2 separate regions of the Homo sapiens genome follow, and region 1 is linked to region 2. The links are contacts of gene promoters, found by promoter capture Hi-C in human tissues and cell types (Jung and others, 2019). All regions are on one chromosome and are shown on one strand. The core of a region is centred on a gene start or on the middle of the fragment in contact, and the rest is flanking DNA. Distances in the headings are between cores, read along the strand shown. Region 1 overlaps GALK2 (galactokinase 2). Region 2 holds the start of EID1 (EP300 interacting inhibitor of differentiation 1).

Evidence for each region. Contacts are between HindIII fragments. The study calls those that stand out against the background at their distance.
Region 1: a contact is called between a fragment that was not itself captured here and the fragment with the promoter of EID1 in region 2, in 1 of the 25 tissues and cell types used here (dorsolateral prefrontal cortex).

What each region holds. Positions count from the first base shown.
Region 1 is chr15:49,213,670-49,220,530 of GRCh38, reverse strand. It overlaps GALK2 (galactokinase 2), which reads right to left. Exons shown (of 10, transcript NM_002044.4): 3 at 3,218-3,341. Among named protein-coding and RNA genes, the nearest start is that of GALK2, 47 kb to the right of the region's middle. The HindIII fragment of the contact is 3,874 bases long and covers 3,636-6,861 here.
Region 2 is chr15:48,875,996-48,883,317 of GRCh38, reverse strand. It overlaps EID1 (EP300 interacting inhibitor of differentiation 1), which reads right to left and starts at 5,184. Exons shown (of 1, transcript NM_014335.3): 1 at 3,145-5,184. The coding sequence starts at 5,141. The coding sequence ends at 4,578. The region is part of intron 4 of SHC4 (SHC adaptor protein 4); the gene reads left to right. RefSeq lists enhancers at 4,930-5,229, 5,500-5,609. The HindIII fragment of the contact is 3,865 bases long and covers 4,649-7,322 here.

The DNA.
Region 1 (6,861 bases), core at 4,323-6,822, 340 kb before region 2:
TACCATTCACAATAGCAAAGATAGGGAATCAACCTAAGTGCCCACCAACAGATGAATAAATAAAGAAAATGTATATATACACAATGGAATACTACTCAGCCATAAAAAAAATAAAATCATGTCATTTGCAGCAATGTGGATGGAATAAGCCAGGTACAGAAAAACAAACATCAGATATTCTCACTCATATGTGGGAACTTAAAAAACTGATCTCATGAAGGTACAGGGTAGAATAATAGATAATAGAGGTGAGGAATGGTCAGTGAACGGGGGATAAAAAGAGGTTGGCAAATAGGTAAAAACATACGGTTAGATAGAAGGAATAAGTTCTAATGGTCTATAGCAGAGTAGGGGGACTATAGTTATCAACCATGTATTGTATATTTCAAAATACCTAGAAGAAAGGACCTGTAATGTCCCAACACAGAAATGACAGAACAAGACTCTGTCTCAAAAAAAAAAAAAAAAAAAAGACTTGTATCTATAAGAAACTCAAAAATAGGGAAATGATTTGAGAAGACGCTTCAACAAAGAATATATCTAGGTAGCAAATAAGTAGATGAAAAGATGTTCAACATCATTAATCAGAGAAATTTAAAAACTTGAAATATGCTACTACACATTTATGAGAATAGCTAAAATTTTAAGACATGTTAGTAACACCACTGGTGAAAATGTAAAATTATACAACTTTGGCAAGCAGAAAATATCTTTTTTTTTGAGACAGAGTCTCGCTCTGTCACCCTGGCTGGAGCGCAGTGGCGCAATCTTGGCTCACTGCAACCTCCACCTCCGAGGTTCAAGTGATTCTCCTGCCTCAGCCTCCTGAGTAGCTGGGATTACAGGTGCATGCCACAATACCCAACTAATTTTTTTGTATTCTTAGTGGAGACAAGCTTTTGCCATGCTGCCCAGGCTGGTCTCGAACTCCCAGGCTCAAGAGATCCATCCACCTCAGCCTCCCAAAATGCTGGGATTACAGGCGTGAACCACCGTGCCCAGCCAGAAAATTTCTTTAAAAGGCTATATTAGTTCATTTTCATGCTGCTGATAAAGACATACTTGAGACTGAGCAATTTACAAAAGCAAGAGATTTAATGAACTTACAGTTCCACATGGCTGCGGGAGCCTCACAATCATGGCAGAAGGCAAGGAGGAGCAAGTCACGTCTTATATCAATGGTGTCAGGCAAAAAGAGAGCTTGTGCAGGGAAACTCCCATTTTTAAAACCATCAGATCTCATGAGACTTATTCATTATCACAAGAACAGCATGGGAAAGACTTGCCCCCATGATTCAATTACCTCCTACCAGGTTCCTCCCAGGACACGTGGGAATTGTGGGAGTTAAAATTCAAGATGAGATTTGGGTGGGGACACCACCAAACCATATCAAAGGCAAACCAGGACGGATGCAGTAGCTCAAACCTGCAATCCCAGCACTTTGGGAGGCTGATGCAGGTGGATCACTTGAGGTCAGTAGCTTAAGACCAGCCTGGTCAACATGGTGAAATCCCATCTCTACCAAAAAATACAAAAATTAGCCAGGTGTGACGGCATGTGCCTGTAGTCCCAGCTACTCCGGAGACTGAAGTGGGAGAATCTCTTGAACCTGGGAGGCAGAGGTTGAGTTGAGCTGAGATCGCCCCACTACACTCCAGGCTGAGCAACAGGGTGAGACCCTGTCTCAATAAATAAATAAATGGCAAACCAGACACTCCAATCATAGGTATTTACCCAACAGAAATGAAACATATGTCCACACATATATTCGTACATAAATATTTGTAGCAGTATTATTCATACAGGCAAAAACTGGGAATGATCTAAATGTCCATTATTGGTAAACAAACAAATTAAGATATACTTACACAATGAATGCTAAAACAAATGGACAATTCTAGGAGGCATACTGCATGCTTCCTAGGGGTCCTGGTAGAATCAAGCCTCCTGCCTCTAGCAGGGACTATATGTCTTGATAATTCACCTCTAATTGCCCAACTCATTCTTCATGCTCTTTCCTACTGCTCCTGGGACCATTTCTCAAATATACTACCTTCATCCAGGTCTGTCTCAGGATCTACTTTTGTGAAAAACGAAACTGAAACCACATATTCATTATTGTGGGAATGATTAAGTAAATTTTACTAAATCAAGATGACAAAATACTATGCACCGATTTTTAAATGTTCATACACAATGACACGAAAATATGCTTGACATAATGTGAGCTTTTCAAGGGTCCAAAATGCACACAAGATATATTATCAAACATGCGAAATGAAAAGGAAAAAAAGATCTTCTACAGTAAGTTCCATATAAAAGTAAAAAACTTCTACGTCTTGCACAAACTGGTATAGAGTCTTATCAAAAATATTTTCCGAATACATGAATGTTATTGCAGATAAACTAACCAATGAACAAGCCAAACATATAATATGCCAAATACAAGCCAAAATCTTTTTCTGTAATTATCAAGTCAAATCCATTATAATACATTAGAAGCAAGTAGAGTTTATCCCAGAAATGCAAAAAGGGCTCAACATTAGAAAATTCGTCAGACTAATTCACCATATTTTTAAAAAAACTGATCTTCAATTCTAAATAGACATTTAATTAAATTCAATACCCATTAGTAAACTTTTTTAATCTTAGCAAACTAAGATTTTTTTTAAAGACTTTGTTAACTTGATAAAGCATATGTACTAGAAACTTACCTCTATTAGGCACCAGACTCTGTTTTATATGCTAGGGCATTGAAGAAGAGAGGCAACAATGCCTGAAGTCACAGAGTTTACAGTCTACTGGGTGACACAGGTAAATAAACAGATAATAATAATACAGCATAATAATATGCTATGACAAGATACTTAGAAGGTGCCATAGTAACATAGGAAAACATCAGACCTGACTTTGCTGGAGATAATTAGATCAATAGATGATAAGTACCTATCGGACAAGGACAGAGTTATTTATCTTTGTATCACCTGGTATCTAAGACTATGTCTAGCACATGATAAGTCTTTGATAAATATTCCTTAAATGAATTGACAAATGAACAAAATGAACAATAAATAATGGCCTTAGAATTTTTTTAATGTCAGACACAAAATATCAATAAGTTAAATGACCTGTTACAAATTTGATGTCTCCTAAAGAGTTCATTTGGGTACAAACAGAACCATACATACACACACACTAACAATTTTAAATACTCACGGATACAAGGGATTTGTATTGGCCAGTTGGAGAGCGTACGTTTTCACAGGTTCTACAGCTATTAGCACATCTTGTTCTACAGCCATAGGAAGAACAGAATATCCACAATAATCTATATGCTCTCCTAGAAAAAAGAGAAAGCTTTTTTAATCATTGCTAATATATAAAACAAAAGCACCTCAAGAAAGTTTACATACAGGAAAAAACTGACCATGAGCCAGGTTTTAACAGTAAATAAAAATAAAGGGAAGCAGAGCAAGATGGCCAAATAGAACCCTTCCATGATCTTACACCAAATTGAGCAACTATCTATGCAATAAACACCTTCATAAGAACCCAGAAAATTCAGGTGAGTACCTGAAAATCACAGTACCTGGTTTTAACATAACATCAGGGATAGAGGAATTGAAGAGGACAGGAAAGACAGTCTTGCATTGCCTACAGGATCCCTTCCAGCATGGACAGAGAAACTGTGTTTGGGGGAGGGAGGGTGAAGTGAGTGTGGGTCTTTGCACTGGAACTTAGTGCAGCCATGTTACAGAAAAACACAAAACAGCAGAACTCTGCTAGCACCCAAGGAGGGGGCATTTAGATCAGCCCTGGGCAAGACAGAATTCTCAATCTCAGCAGGAGGAACCTGAGTCCCAACCAACCTCACCTCTGGCTAACTAAACTGGCCTAGTGCCCAGAATAAGCTTAAGTGGCTGTCAGGCCACAAGTACTGCAGTCCTCGGGCAAGCCCTGGTACTGCACCGGCCTTGGAGGCAGTAGACTTGTGATGTGTGACCAAGTGTGACACCAGCTGTGGCAGCCAGGGGAGTGCCTGATCGCACTGCACCCAACTCCAGGAAGTGCAGTTTGGGGAGAGATTCCTTTAGCTTAAGGAAAGAAGTGGGAAGAGTACAGAAGACTGTCTTGCAATTTGGGTACCAGCTCAGTCGAAGTAAAGCACCAAGGAGATTCCTGAAGCTGTCAATTCCAGGACTTAGTTCCTGGACCCACTCTCATTCAGAGGGAATCCACTGCCCTGAAGAGAAGAACCCAGTCTTGGCAGGATTCACCTGCTCACTAAAGATCCCTTGGGCCTTGAATAAACATCAGCAGTAACCAGGCAAGATCCAGTATTATACAGGCTTCAGGTGTGACCTAGCACAGTGCCAGCTGTGGAAGCCATGGAAGTGCTCTAGGCAGCCCAGTATGGAGACAGACTACTTCTGACTGGGAGGAGTAAAGGGAAGATATCAAGAGGACTTTGCCTGACAACCCAGGGAATTCTCCTTTACCTTACCCAAACTCGTCAAGGCAGTGCCTCTAGATGTCAGGAAGAATTGCAGCATTCCTGGGCTTAGAGCACCTCCTTGTGCCGATATGCCCATACGGACCACAGGCTTAGAGCACAACACACTCAATCCCATTTGAATACATGAAAAGCCTTCTCAAGAATGAAGGGTACAAACAAGCCCAGACTACACAGACAAATAAATATCTAATTTGTCAATGCCCATAAGTGATGAATGTCCACAAGCATCAAGAGTATCCAGGAAAACATGACCTCATTAAATGAACTACAGAAGACACCAGTGACCAATCCCAGAAAGATGGAGATGTATGTCCTTTCAGACAGAGAATTCAAAAGAACTGTCTTGAGGAAGCTCAACAAACTTAAAGATAACACAGGGAAGAAATTCATTATTCTACCAGAGAAATTTAACAAAGAGATTAAAATAGTTTTTGAAATTTCAAACAGAAATTCTGCAGCTGAAAAATTCAACTGGCAAACTCAAAAATGTCTCAGAGTCTCTCAACAGCAGAATCGATCAAGAAAAATAAATAGTGAACCTGAAGACAGGCTATATAAAAATACACAGTCAGAGGAGAGAAAAGAGAAATAATTTTAAAAGAATGAAGCCTCTCTACAAGATCTAGAAAATAGCCTAAAAGGGGCAAATCTAAGAGTTATTGGCTTTAAAGAGGATGTAGAGATAGAGAGATCAGGGTAGAAAGTTTATTCAGTGAAATACTGATAGAAAACTTTCCAAACCTAAGAAAAGATATAAATATTAAGGTATAAGAAGATCACACAACACCAAAAGGATTCAACCCAAATAAGACTAACTCAGTTAATATATTAATCAAACTCTCAAAGGTCAAGGATAAAGAAAGTATCCTAAAAGCAGAAAAAGAAAAGAAGCAAAGAACATATAAAGGGGCTCCAATATGTCTAGTAGGAGACAACTCCGCAGGAAACTTAGAGGCCAAGAGAGAGGGGGATGACATATTCAAAGTGTTGAAGAAAAACAACTTTTGAACTAGAATATTATTTCCAGTAAAATTATCCTTCAAACATGAAAGAGAAATACTTTCCCAGACAAACACAGCTGAGGGGTTTCAACAACACCAGACCTGTCTTGCAAAAAATGTTAAAGAGAGTTATTCAATCTGAAAGAAAAGCACATTAATGTAAAAAAATATATATCACATGGTGGTACAGAACTCACTGGTAGTGGTAAATGAACAGATGAATGAATACAGAATACTCTAACACTGTAACTATAGTGTTAAAACACTCATATCTTAGTAGGAAGATTAAAAGACAAACCTATCAAAAATAGTAACTGAAACAGCTTTCTGAGCATAAAAAGATATAAACAGAGACAATCAAAAGTGACAAAGCAGCCGGGCATGGTGGCTCAAGCCTGTAATCCTAGCACTTTGGGAGGACAAGGCAGGAAGATCACGAGGTCAGGAGATCAAGACTATCCTGGCTAACATGGTGAAACCCCATCTCTACTAAAAATACAAAAAAAAAAAAAAAAATAGCCGGGTGTGGTGGCAGGTGCCTGTAGTCCCAGCTACTTGGGAGGCTGAGGCAGGAGAATCGCTTGAACCCGGGAGGCAGAGGTTGAAGTGAGCCGAGATCACGCCACTGTATCCAGCCTGGGTGACAGAGTGAGACTCCATCTCAAAAAAAAAAAAAAAAAGTGACAAAGTGAAGAAATGGGGTTAAGGTAAAGTTTTGGGGGGTTTTTTTGTTTTCTTTTTGCTGATTTCTTTTTTATTTTCATTGTAATCAGAGTTAAGCTGTCATCTGCTTAAAATAATTGGTTATGTTATTTGCAAGCCTCACAGTAACCACAAAACAAAAACCTGTAACAGATACAAAAAAAGTTGGGTTTTTTTGTTTGTTTGTTTTTGAGACAGACTCTTGCTCGGTCGCCCAGGCTGGAGTGCAGTGGCATGATCTCAGCTCACTGCACGCTCCACCTCCCGGGTTCATGCCATTCTCCTGCCTCAGCCTCCTGAGTAGCTGGGACTACAGGCACCCGCCACCATGCCCAGCTAAATCTTTTTTTATTTTTTAGTAGAGATGGGGTTTCACCGTGTTAGCCATGATGGTCTCGATCTCCTGACCCCATGATCCACCCGCCTCCACCTGCCAACGTGCTGGGATTACAGGCGTGAGGCACCATGCCCAGCCCAAAAAAAGTTTTAAATAATAAATTAAAACATTGTCAGAAAAAGTCACTTTTACACAAAGGAAGACAAGAAGGAAGGAAGAGAGGACCAACAAAACAACCAGAAAATAAATAACAAAATGGCAGTAGTAAGTCTGTACCTTATAACTATAACATCGAATATAAATG
Region 2 (7,322 bases), core at 3,935-6,434:
TTATGGTACTTATTTATAAGGTTTCTGAGAGGATGGATTTTAAGTGTCTCATAGGGCTGTTTAGAGGATTAAATGAGATAATAGATGTAAATTATATAGCATGTGCCAGTCACATGATACCTATTATTATTTACTCAAATATTCTCAGAGACCTTTTCATATACTCAGTACTTAATAGGAAGTGCATATTATAAGATTATAAAATTATCAGTAACATATAAGTACAGGTTTTGAGGTCTATTTTATTTTCTAAATTAAAAAAACAGAATAAAATACACTGTTTAAGCAGTAGTATACAACACCTTAGAGGAAAAGTGTTAATATGAAACAGTTACAAATAAGTTCTTGTCTAGTTGGGTCCTGACTGATCTTCCAAGAGTGGTGATACCATTGGTATCATGAGAGCATAACATTTTGGGCTGCACTTGGAAGACACATGTGGGTGGTGAAACATTCATTCAGTCATTCTGACATTTTGACTTCAATACATATGTAGATGCAAAATTTATTTTCAGTTTTCATTCACATGGATGGTACCACGCAAGCTCAATGCTTTTAGTTATGAGATCTCACTAAGTAAAGGAGCCCTCGGGTTATCTCAGAGTTTTGTAAGGGAGGAAGAGTAGGCAAAGCTGAAGCCATCATAATGACAGCCTTTTGGGTAGAATCTATGATCATTTTTTAAGATGGCCCTTTCTGTGGGGTGTCTGAAATGAATAAGGAATTTATGAATGGGATTGTGGTATATGTGGTGGGGCAGAGTTTATTCTCAGCCTCTCTTTCCCCTTCAGTACCCTTCTTTAGGGCAAAGTATTACTACCCATCCATAATCTTTCAGGCAAAACAGAGGTGAGGATAACGGGTGGTTTTCATTACCAGTAACTATAGTAATATGATGTGCCTTTGAAAGTAATCCATAGCTTTTCTGCACTGGTGGCATGGAATGGGTTGTATTCAGCCCACTGCTAGAGTGGGGACCAAAGTTAAGATCTCATTTATCTCAGACCTGAGGGCTGATTTTTAATAACTATTTTGAGCTTTCCTGCAGGCCTAGGGGAAATGGCTGGGGGATATGGGGGAGAGATGTGCCACTGTAGAGGCCTCAACTCAAGAAGCTTTATTTCCCATGAGAAAGGCAACTAAAATGTTTAAGAAATGAAGGCAGCAAAGATGAGAGACCTTGTGGATACAGCACAAGAAAAGGATTAATTAAATCCTTAATGCTACCACTGGAAGTTCTAAAATAAATACAAAGAAATACTAATGCCTTCCCCATCCCCACTTAATTTCTAAGATATGCTTTGGACTGAAAACAAAGGTTCAAATTTATGGATATATTCATAGATGATAGCATTTATGGAACGGATAGTTCACATTTATCTTTGGCCACTGAGAACATCAAGAATATAACAATTCATTCCCAGAAAATATTTTACAAACCTCCAGAGGCAGAAAATATTAAACATGCGATGCTTGCAATTTTTAAATATTACCATATTTCAGGATGGGAATACATTTTTGCAAGGGTAAGTTATAGGTATTTCCTTGTTTTAAAATTCAAGCAACAGACTTTATTGACATACTTTAATATAGTATTTTAGGGCCTCAAGCAAAGTCAGAGTCTCAGTTGCTCACACTCCCACTAATTCTTTACTGATTTCTACAACTCTAACAGGTACTGAATTCAGAAGGGTAATAGAGTTAAGGTAAAACAGGCAAAAATTGAGACATCCTTTAGTCTCTACAAGGAGAGGCAACTTGAGATATTTAGAGGCCAAGTAGGTAATGCAAGCTGTGCAAGCACAAGAAAAAACAATGGTGCAGGCCCAATGATAAATGTCAAGTGCTACCTGGCCTCTGTGTTGGGGAGACAACACTGAGGGACTTGGCAAACAGAATCTTCCTTATCTAAAGGTGAATCAGATGGTTTTTTTTTTTTTTTGCTTTGTTTTTTTGTTTGTTTGTTGGCTACATAGGTCTATAGGTCAAAGGCTCCCAGATCTTTTACTTTAAAAAAATAATAATAAAAAGGTAAGAATCTAGATTTTTAGCTGCTGTCTCTGTACTGAGATGTTGGTCTCTTAAAATTATAAGCATGAACCAAACAAAATAGATCTGTGGCCTGAAGACAGTCAACATGGGATATCTGATCTAAGCGAACATTTATAATATGTATGGATAAATTTGGAAAACTCTCCCTAATCACACCGTGTACTCAAAATCTTCTTTAAATCCCCTACCTTGCAAAATCAGAATTTCCCCAGAACTCCTTTCTCTAGCTTCCTTAAATGAAGACACACACACACACACACACACACACACACACACACACTCTCACACACATCATCATTTAGTCCTCACAATTTGTAAGGTACATCCAATTGTTCCTATTTTCAGTTTAGGACATGAGCCAGAGAGATTAATTTCCCAGTTACTGAGCTAATAAATAGTAGAACCCAAATTTTAACCAAGTAGTCTGGTTTGTCTGTGGCAACTGCATGTAAAAGAAACACAAATAATTTTACACCCCTAAAAGGGGTGTTAAAATGTTTTCTATCCTCAATAAATACAAGTAAGTATTTACAATTTTCATTGTCTCTCAGCTTACTGCCTATTTTTAAGACTGAAAAACAACCAAGTCAATTGCAGAGCCCAGGTTTTTCTCCCCAAGATGGGCCTTCAGATGGAATAGTGTTTCCCACCCCCACCTCTTTGCCCTACTCAGTCCCAGAGAAAAACAGAATCACAACCTTCTAGTTTGTGGACCTCAGATTTTTTTTTCCAAGAGTTTATCTTTCCTAGTAAAGATAAACTTTCCTGGTAAAGATAAAGATCTGGAGGTAAATACAACCAGCCAGTTTATTGTGCACTAGCATACCCCCACCCACACTAATTTACATCATCCATGCAATTAATTACCTATCCACACTCATCTGACCGTAGCTGCACGCTAATTGAGAAAGCAGTGGAAGAGGCAGTAGGATTAAGTCTAAGCACCAACATTTTACTTCCACCATCTCTCCCTCCTAACCCAGCTAGTGTCTGAGCAATTCTGATCAGCCTTGTCACAGTCCTATCTTTTACAGATCTCTCTCCCCAAAAGACAGGATGACCATAAAATAAATAAGGCTCTGAATTGTCCTGTTGCATTGGATATTCGTTCTTTACTGCTATAATGGAGCAGAAGCATTTGGAACATTTTTACTGATCATGATAAAACCTGCTGATACACTTATTTTGCTGAACCTAGCCTTCTGATGTAATCATTACTCTCCTAGAACTTCAGCATCTTAGTAAGGTAACCACGGCAACATACTCATTGATAGGGCAGGTTTTCCCAGACCAGCAAATTCTTATAGGCAAAAACTTAATTTACAAAGTTTAATTTCCAGAAATTAATTTGTGAATTAGATAGCTGAAGCTGGATCATTTTCCCTTAATACTGGTTAACACATACAATAGAAAGTAGTATACAGAGAAAGTATGTATGCAATACTATTAGCCAAACAAAATACACAGAACAAGAAATTTTATTATCTCCAATGCTGGTGCATGACAAATAACAAGCTTAATTAGAGGAGGAGACAGAGGGAAACTTCAGATACCAAGGTAATTTCTGGGCAGGTTTAAAACCTTTAAAAGTTGATAGAATAACTGTTCATAAAGTCTTTTTAGATATAGCGCTTTTTACTTGACAACTTTTATTAACAGTTCTTACAATATGAAGTTCAACTAAAGTCCTTCATCTGTCAAGTTAAAACAGCAAGCAAAACAAAATTTCTCTAGTATATAACAGCATAAGCAATGGTTTGTTTTCTTTGTACATTCACACACATTTAGTGTCTAGATTTGAAACTTTTTAATTAAGGATGTCTTAATTTTTGACTTTTAAAAATGGTTATGACAATGGATTTTCTTGATTTATAGATCACAGTGGCTTTATAAATGATCAAGATACATGTACAAACAAAATTTCAGATGCTCTTGGAAACACATCTTAAGATACAAAGCACACGTGATACATATTTGAGTTTACTCATCCATTTATCTTACACTGAAAATGTAGCCTTTGATAACTGTGGCTTGACTAGATCACAAAATAGAATTTTCCAAGTTTTCTTAAGCTTTCAGTCCAAATAACTCAAAAGATATGTGTCCTAGTTGGATACATTTTTTTCTCATTATATAATTAGTATCAGTGGGCTTTTGTATTGGCAGTTTGTCTTGGTCATGACTTATTCTTGCAAAACCATCTTTACAGCAAACAAATATGAAAGATATTTTCCCCAATGCAAGGAAAATAATCTGGATCAATAACAAAGTCAAAGCCATAGGTGTTTTAGGACGTTCTTGATAATTGATTTCAACGGTCTTAAAATCTTTTTTCTTTTTCTTTAATGATTCTCTTCCTTTTTCACAACTGTGCAGTCACTGTCCTATTGTGTTCTATTCTGAAAAACAAATTTTTTTGAAGGTCAAGTTTTTCAATGGCACAAAACTATTTGGAATGAACCCAAAAGATAGCGGAAAGTTGGGTCCCTCCTCAAGTAGTTTCCTCCTCTTTTAACAGCATCTAACTACTCTCTATCAATAATCTCATCACAGCCGAGTTCTTCGGTCAGACGATTGACAACCATCAGTGAAAAAAGCTCTTCGATAAAAGCTAACTGATCAAACGGGGTCTTCTCATAATGCATCTGAAACCCGCCATCCAGGGCTGGTTCTCTTGTTCTCAGAAACATCTTGTCGGCTTCTTCAAGAGCGGCTGATACTCTGTAGCCGGCACCACTGAGCTGCTCCTCTTCGGGATAGTCGTAGTCGTCCTCCCAGTCATCAAATTCCTCGCCCTCGTCCTCGCTCTCGAAGTCTGCGCCCGCCACCTGGCCTGGCTGCTCCCCAGCGTTGGGCCCGTTAGCAAGGCTCCGTTTCCCCTCTGGCGCCGCCATTGGCTGGGCCTCCTCCTCCTCCATTGGGCCTTCCTCCTCGAGCTGTTGGGCCCCGCTGCGGGAGGGACGCAGGGATAGCTCCCGGCTCCCGCTGCCTACCTCCATCTGCGGAAGGTCACCCTCGCCAGGCATCACATCCATCTGCAGGTCACTGCTCTCTTCATACAGCTCGGACAACTCAGCCATTTCCGACATTGTGCAAACCGCTCAACCTCTAGGAAAAAGCTTCCAGCAAGACAGATGCTGCGCGGCCGTGCGTTCGTGCGCGTGCGCAAAGGCTGCGCGCTTGCGTAACCCCGCGCGCAGGCGTGGTCCTCAGGTACCGCCTCCTACTTGGCGCGCCACTGTGGTTGGAGTAGCTCAGTGTTTTCTCCGGGGTGTTGGCGTCGCCTTTTGAGCTACGTTTCCATCGATTCGAACTTCGTATCTAGGGACCCTGCATGCAAGAGCGTAACAGTTTCTGTGTTACTTAACCCTACTGCTGCTTGTAATGCTGCAAACCGGAAAATAACCTTACATGGCCTTCGTAACATTTAATGCTCCTTCCCCCCCTTCCTCTTCCCCTGGGCAATTTACCGATGTACTGATGACTTGTAAATCCACGTCTCCAAACCAGACAACATCCATAACCACAGATCAGCATATTAAGAACTAATCCATTTTGTCCTTTTAGTGTTTTCATTTAAAAAGTTAAATTCACAAACAACAGATATATTGTACTTTTTTTTTTTTTAGTTATAGTGAAGAAATACTTGGTCCCATTTCTTTTCGCCTGGGAGGTATCTTTCCACTATTAGCAATGCGGTGTGTATTCTTTGAATTCTTTTTATTTGCATTTACATGTATCTTTATGTATTGACAGCAAAATACTATTTTGTGTGTTTTTTAAAAACATGTTTTACCTGTTTTTACCTTCAACTTAAAAGCCTCAGGTTTTAAGTTGTATATACTTATATGAATTATATGACTGTGTATACTTACAGGATTCAAGCACATTTCATTTATTCTGCACTTTATTTCTATTATTATTACATTATAGTTATGTAGAATTATACAACTCACCATAATGTAGAATCAATGGGAGCCCTGAGCTTGTTTTCCTGCAACTAGATGGTCCCATCTGGGGGTGATGAGACACAGTGACACCCGAGGTGTGTTCCTTATGTCCGGTCTATTCTGTAATCTCATTTTGGTTGCTGTTACTGTGGAAAATCCTGCCTCACAAAGATAGGATGTTGAAAATGGAAGGAGGCTTTTCAGTACTTTTGTGGCAATCTCAGGATGTTCCGCCTTGACTTTAATCGAGAACGTATGGAGATTTGAAGTTGTCTCAAACATACTTTTAAGGCCACCGTCATTTGCAATATCAAGCAGTTGATCCTCTTCTAGCGTGGACAAAGTGGATTCACCTGGCTTATTCACAAATGGGTCACAGATCCATTCCGTCTTTTGTGGATGAGAAGTGTGATGGTTAATACTGAGTGTCAACTTGATTGGATTGAAGGATACAAGTATTGATCATTGGTGTGTCTGTGAGGGTGTTGCCAAAGGAGATTAACATTTGAGTCAGTGGGCTGCGAAAGGCAGACCCACCCTTAATCTGGTTGGGCACAATCTAATCAGCTGCCAGCTTGGCTAGAATATAAGCAGGCAGAAAAATGTGAAAAGAGAGACTGGCCTAGCCTCCCAGCCTAAATCTTTCTCCTGTGTTGGATGCTTCCTGCCCTCGAACATTGGATTCCCAAGTTCTTCAGTTTCAGAACTCGGACTGGCTCTCCTCTCTCCTTAGCCTGCAGACAGCCTATTGTAGGACCTTGTGATCATGTGAGTTAATACTTAGTGAACTCCCCTTTACATATATATACATATATATGTGTATATGTATGTGTGTATGTGTATATACGTGTGTGTGTGTGTGTATATATATATGTATATATTCCATTAGTTCTGTGCTTCTAGAGAACCATGACTAATACAGGAAGTAATGCTCAAAATATTTTGAAAGCTGAGATAGGTGATCATGCACCAGCTGGGAGAAAGAAGACCCTGGCTCAGTCTCTTTCAAAATCTCTGCTAATGTTTGAAATGTCAGAAATCCCAGTGTTCATTTGTCACCCGCATGATTCCAGTTTGGCTTTGAATGCAGCCACCTTATCTGCCAAGTTGAACACAGTTGTTGTTCGTCCCTGAAGTGACAGAGTTCACTGAGCAGGTTGAATATGTCACACAAGTAAGCAAGTTTTTTTGTGACCCATTCTGTGTCACTGAAATGTGCCGCCAATGGTGACTGTTTTTCTACAAAGAAATCTCTGAAGCAGCTCTCTTAACTCAAAAACTCTGGCCAGTGATCTACCTTTAGAAAGCCATCTCACTTCT